Regions from separate parts of the Homo sapiens genome. Here region 1 is linked to region 2. The links are contacts of gene promoters, found by promoter capture Hi-C in human tissues and cell types (Jung and others, 2019). All regions are on one chromosome and are shown on one strand. Each heading gives the region's core, a stretch centred on a gene start or on the middle of the fragment in contact. The rest is flanking DNA. Distances are from core to core; before and after follow the strand shown. Region 1 overlaps PODXL2 (podocalyxin like 2). Region 2 holds the start of EFCC1 (EF-hand and coiled-coil domain containing 1).

The links. Contacts are between HindIII fragments. The study calls those that stand out against the background at their distance.
Region 1: a fragment that was not itself captured here is called in contact with the fragment with the promoter of EFCC1 in region 2 in 1 of the 25 tissues and cell types used here (stomach).

Annotation. Positions count from the first base shown.
Region 1 is chr3:127,645,537-127,648,690 of GRCh38, reverse strand. All of the region lies in intron 2 of PODXL2 (podocalyxin like 2), which reads right to left. Among named protein-coding and RNA genes, the nearest start is that of PODXL2, 18 kb to the right of the region's middle. The HindIII fragment of the contact is 3,125 bases long and covers 51-3,154 here.
Region 2 is chr3:128,999,863-129,002,937 of GRCh38, reverse strand. It overlaps EFCC1 (EF-hand and coiled-coil domain containing 1), which reads right to left and starts at 1,634. Exons shown (of 8, transcript NM_001377500.1): 1 at 614-1,634. The coding sequence starts at 1,309. It also overlaps a transcript of CFAP92 not described here. The HindIII fragment of the contact is 14,506 bases long and covers 1-3,075 here.

The DNA of each region.
Region 1 (3,154 bases), core at 364-2,863, 1.4 Mb after region 2:
TGAGCCAAGATCACACCACTGCACTCCAGCCTGGGCAAAGAGTGAGACTGTCTCAAAAAAAAAAAAAAGTCCAGAAAGAGATAGTCCAAAACGTTAACATTCACTGACTGAATCACTGGATTATAGGTGATTTTTATTTTCTTCTTTTAATTGCTGTTTTAAATTTTTATATGTTGATATTTATTACTAGCACAGAACAAGAATGACAAGGCTTTTGTTTTGGTGTCTAAGTAAAAGTGCTCTCTTTGTTGCTCTGTCCACAGGCTCCACAGCTATCGGCCCATCCTAAGGACATGGATACACCTGATGTGTGGGCAATGACCCAGAAGGTCAAATCATTCTACAGCAGACACAATCACAACAAGGCTTCGCTGTACAGGAACCAGCTCCAGGTCCCAGCAGACAGCTGCTCGGTCGGTCTGCTTTCTCCAAAATTGATTACGGCAATGATAATTAAAGTAGCCTAATGAAGGACTTTGTATTGAGGGGAGCAGCAGATCTTGAAGTAGAACTCTCAGATTTGAGATTTAGCTCTGCCACTATGTCATTTAGAGCCACTTTTAAATCTCTGTCAGCCAGCTTCTTTAGCTGTAAAACAGTGATCTAATCATGCCTGCTTTTACAGATTTCATCAGGTTGCTGTGAGGTTAAAAAAAAATCCAAGTGAAAATGACATATGAAGTATAGGCACTTTATGAGTGTTCCCTACTCAAGCACAGTACTGTTGTCTCATGCTCTCTTTCTGTTAATAGCACCTCAATTCTACTCTGGGGGACATTCCTCCTCTCTTTTTGGTCTGGAATGTCCCCTGGCTTCAGGGACAGCTCAACATGGGCCTGGACAGTCAAATTCCATCCCCAAGCTTGGGACTCAGGGAGACCATCCAGTGACTGTTCCTGAAGTGCTGGGAAGGCAGAGCTCCCTTTCTGCGGGGTGCTGAGTGATGGGACGACAGTGTGGAGCTACTGGGCTCTCCAAGCCGGTGCCCAGGACCAGCCTGCCTGAGAACGAAGCCAGCAAGGGAAAGCCGAGCATGACTGATGGGACAGGGCAGGCTCCAGCACGTTGAGGGCGGCACGCCGAGTGCTGGAGCTGGAAGCCTGTTCCTGGACCCCCGTTCTTCAGCCAATAAAGTCCCCTTTTATCAGACAGGCCCGTGAGCCTGTCTGAGTTGGGTATCTAGGACTTGCCAACCCCAAAGATTAAAGTGTTTCTTGCAGAACACTTTAATTTGCTCACTCACTAGGAAAATTAAAACTGCATGCAAGACAATTTCCTTAAGGAGCTTAGAAAATGAAAGGGCTAGAGGGGTCAGTGGGGACAGTCTCGAATGAGTAGGTAACCTGAGAGACTGCTCCTAATCATTAACAATTGTGCATGAATTAACTGGTCAGGCTGTAACTTCACTTGATGCTAGCTGGTGGAGCAGCAATTCGCATTCCATGTTTTTTTCCCTGCTTTGTTGAGGTTGCTCTTTTCACTTGAAATGTCACAGAATCATAATATTTTCAAGCTGCAAAGACTTCAATCTATTATTCCCAGGTCTCATTTTGCAGATGAAGAGACTGAAGCCAACATTAGAAAAGCAGCACACTCAAGGTCACACTGCTCATTATCCACCAAGCAGAAACTCCACCAGCTGTTTTTCCCACTGGGCCCGGGGACCATCATTACAGATGGAGAAGGAAGGCATCAGCTCTACCTGAGGCCCAACACACTAGAAATGGGATGTATGACAAAGTCCTAGTGACAGAATGGACTGGTTTCCTGTCTCACATGTGTCATCAATGTGCTCCCTTGGCAAGAAGCCAGGCCCAGGGCATCAGTGCTCAGGGATACCGACTCCAGATTCGGCTCTGCCACACACAAGCTGTGTGGCCTTGGGCAAAGGTCTGAACCTCCCTTGGCCCAGCTCACCATTTGTCAAGCAAAGAGAATAACTGCCACCTGGCTGAGCTCACAGAATGGTTGTGAAGTCCAAATGAGCTAACTCAAAATTCTATGGAGCCAGGCGTGGTGGCTCACGTCTGCAATCCCAGCACTTTGGGCGGCCGAGACGGGCAGATCACGAGGTCAGGAGTTTGAGACCATCCTGGCCAACATGGGGAAACCCCGTCTCCACTAAAAATACAAAAATTAGCTAGGCATAGTGGTGCACCCCTGTAATCCCAGCTACTTGGGAGGCTGAGGCAGGAGAATCACTTGAACCTGGGAGGCGGAGGTTGCAGTGAGCCAAGACTGTTGCACCATTGTACTCCAGCCTGGGCAACAGAGTGAGACTTCATCTAAAAAAAAAAAAAAAATCTATGGAAAAATGGTGATAAGTACCACATAGAATATGACATTAGTGCTAGTCTCCAGCAAAATCACTGTGCTGAGAGGTGACATGACAGGGCAGAGAGGCTTTGGAGTCTAATAACTTGGGTTTGAATCCTGATTCTTACATTTACTTGCTGGGCTGTAAATTCAAACTCCCTAAGCCTCAGGTTTGCTTATCAGCTAAATGGAAGTAAGAATATATACTTACATTTTTCAGTGGACGTTAAATGAGAACCCACAACCCCTAACATAGTGCTGGGCACATACTGGGTGTTGAATACATTGATTGATGTACTTGTACTTGATCTGAGATTGGCCTGTCTGCAGCATGGTTTTCAGCAGTCCCTGCTACTGCTGCATGGAGTTCAATGTCCCTAATGGCCATGTTAGGATAGCACTTGGCACAGTCAATCTGGACTCTGCAGGACTCCCAACCCAGGCATGCCCTCTCAAGGTTCTTTTGACTCCTCCAACCCCCAAGAGGTGATCCACCTCCTTCTCCCCAAGAACCCCTAGACAGAAGCCTGTGGCTCCGGGGCACAAGAGCAGACAAGAATAGGGGGGTAGGGCACGCCACTGTCCCCTGGGCTGCCTCCTACACCAGCCTGACTATTCGCTGTCAGCCTGCCACCTTAGCCACTTTCTCTTCTGTCATGTCCTAATCATATGCCATCAAGGTGCTGCAAGAAAACAGAAGCAGGGGTCACTAGCCTGATTTCAGGGCCACTGCCAGTACACGGAGATGTCCCCTCTGGGCAAATGAATTAGAAAAAGGTGCTCCTCCCACCCAGCCCATGGCCTGGTTGGCAGGGTGTATGCTGGACTTCAGCTCCAA
Region 2 (3,075 bases), core at 385-2,884:
TTCTTCTCAATAGCCCAGAGCGGGTCTGGTTCCCGCAGGCACTTGGTGGCCCGTGAGTGCCTGATCCACAGTGTGAGCCACATTGTCTGTTTCTCACTTGTCTCTGTTTCTCCCACAGGGAGCCCCATAAGTCTTTGCTGATTGACAGAAGGAGCTGTCAGTCTACCCCAGGAGGCAGGGATATCCCTAAAGGTGAGGACAGGGCCTTCTTCACACTTCTGTCTCCTAAACCTCCCAGAAGCCTGGCAGGAAGGAGAGAGAAAGATGCTTGTTGAAAGGGAATATGTGAGACTACCCAGACAGGTGCAATTCCTAGGTTAAAGGGGCAAGACGCGATGATGTGGCGGTGGAGCAGAAAAGTGGGGTATGGTTGTTTGAGTGTGATTGGGGTTTTCAGGAATGGAATAGGTGGTAAGAATAGGGTTGGGGACTGGAGTGGAATGGGGAGGAACAGGGGCAAGATGCAAGTGTGCTGATGCGGAGTGGGATGGTGTGGGGCTGCCCTCTGTCTCCCCTTCCTCTGACTCTGTCCTGTCGGGCTCCGCAGCCAGCCAGCTTTTAGTTCGAGCCCTCTCCCGGGCGTTACCACCCTCCCTTCGTGGCCGGCGCGCACCTGCAGTGCTAGGCAGCGCGCATCACTGCTCTGCAGCGCGGCGCGCAGGTCCTCCACCAACTCGCGCAAGCTGCTATTCTCCTCCTCCAGCCGCGCAACGCGCTCACAGTCAGGACCGCTGTCGGGGCCAGGCGCGCAGGGCGGGCGGCGGCGGCGGCGCGGACGGCGCAGGCGGATCTGCGTCTCGATGTGCTCGCTGAGAGCGCCGCGGGGCAGCCGGGGCCCCGCACGGGTGCCGAAGTAGCCACAGAGGCGCGCGTGGAACTGGCGGAAGGTGAGCTCCGGCGGCTCGGCGCGCAGCGCCAGGCGCGCCTCTTCATCGGTATCTGAGTCCCCGTCCGTGGCCAACTCAGCGGCCGCATCCCCGGGGGTCACATCTCTGGAGTTCCCGTCACCTGCTGCCTGCCCGGCCGTGGTGGCCCCCTCCGCGCGCAGCCCCAGCACAGCGCAGAGCGCTCGGAAGTCGGCGCGGGGCAGACGGCCGGCGCCGCGGCAGTCCAGGTGGTGGAAGACCTCCTGCAGGTACTGGTCCAGGCCGGTGGCCAGCACCACGATCTCGTTCTCCACGCCGCGGTCCAGCCCGTAGTGGTGCGCCAGGGCGCTCAGCAGCCACTGCGTGCGCCGCGCAGGTCGCCGGTACGGGTCACCTCCCGCGCCCTCCATGCCGGCCTCCGCGCCCGTGCTGACCGGCTCCATCGCTGCGCCGCGCGCCTCGCTCCTCCGGTCCCTCCTCCGGTCCCTTCGCCCCGCCACTTCCAGGGGCGGCCCCAGAGTTTCTCGAAAGGAGGGGCTTAGCGGTCGCGGTCTGGTTGGAGCGGCGCCGGGGACCGTGTCCAGCAGCTGCGCTGGCCTCACAGTGCGTCTGGTTTACCCCAGTTGCTTTGGAGGGGCCTGGGGTAGGGGGTCCAGGAACCCCCGGGACCCCGGCAGCGCCACCAGTGCCCGGTCGGCGTCTGGGTCTGGCTTCTCCGCGTGACTCCCACGCTCTCCTCTCCTCACTCACGGGGCGTTCCTGGCGTCTGCGCTTTTCCTCCCACTCCCGGCCGTCCACTCTCAACTCCCTCCTCCCTCCGCCCCGCCCGCCTGGCGCGGAGAGTTCGCTCCGAGACCTGGGCGAGGGGTTGGCGCGGGATCCGAAGCCCAGGAGGGCCTTGGGGGTGGCGGCCTCGTCCGGTTGCTGGGGATGTGCCCCCACACCCAAGCGTCACTCTTCCCCCTCTTCCCGGAAGGCCTTTCGAGGGTTGCCTGGCAAGCCTGCTCTCGCCGCCCTGTAGCCGTAGGTGCGGAAAAGCCTCCCCTCCGCTTCAATTCAGCTACTGGGTTTCCGAACCCACTTCTTGTGCCACCATAGACCGTGCAAAGAGCCCCAAGTAGTAACTGGGAAAGAGAGGGAAACAGGCTTGGAGAGGCAAGGGGTCTAGGTTAGGGGCACCCCGCTGGTGAGAAGCCCATCTGAGACGAGCCCTGTGCTAACTGCTCTCTCCCGATCCCTGTTGGGGGTGGGGATAGGACTCTCGGGAAAGTGGTGTCTCCCGGCCCTGCCACCTTTGTGCCTGCCGGTGCTGACTTGGCAATGGGATCCGAGTTCCATCTCTTGAGCTGGGGTTAGGTTAACAGGTCGATGATTGGCTGATGTTTTTTTCTGGTGTTTTAGAACACATTTCTGGAAGATGAAGAAAAACCTGCTTCTCTGGTGAGTGCTAGACTGTGTTCCCTTTCTTTTTCACGAGAGGGGTGCAGTGATATTGTGATATTGTCCACCTGTTACCTGCACCGGGAACGGTTATCCAGCCACGGTACCCAGCCATGTTGGAGCAAGAGGCAGACTCTTCAGCTGTTCCTAGCTATGACAGAGACAGAATCTTGCCTTGTGGATAACTCTGTGAGTTTAAATGTAAAATCTTGCCGTTTGAAAAGCGATAGCATTCTGTCTCCTCTGCCACAGTATCCCAGAATCAGCACGTTGTCCATTTGGCAAATTCGTACTTGTTCTTGAAGGCTTTGCCCAGAGTACATATCTGCTGGGAAGGAGTTAGAGGCTTCTCCCCAAGCATTTTGGACATATTCTTTTAGGTTTGTTTTTAATTATAAAAGTAATGGCAATTTGACAAAGTTTTTACATCACGTCCACTTCTTGGCTTCTACCTTCGAAAGCCACTGTGCACAGGATGTTCACTGCATCATTGTTTATTACAGTGAGAAACTGGAGACAACCTGGTGTCCATCAAATCAGCTAGGACTCAGCAAACGAGGATGAGCGGACACAGCAAGCCACAAGCTGATTATGCACAACACTGATGCTTACATAACAAGAACAAAAACACACAAAACAATACTAAGTATTTTCTACTAGGACATGTGTATGTGAGTGCACAGAAGAAGATGGAGGGATTCATAAGTGGATTCAGTGGTTCTTTCTGCAGATGGGAGACACTGCAGTATTTCCCTTTTGTTAAGATGTT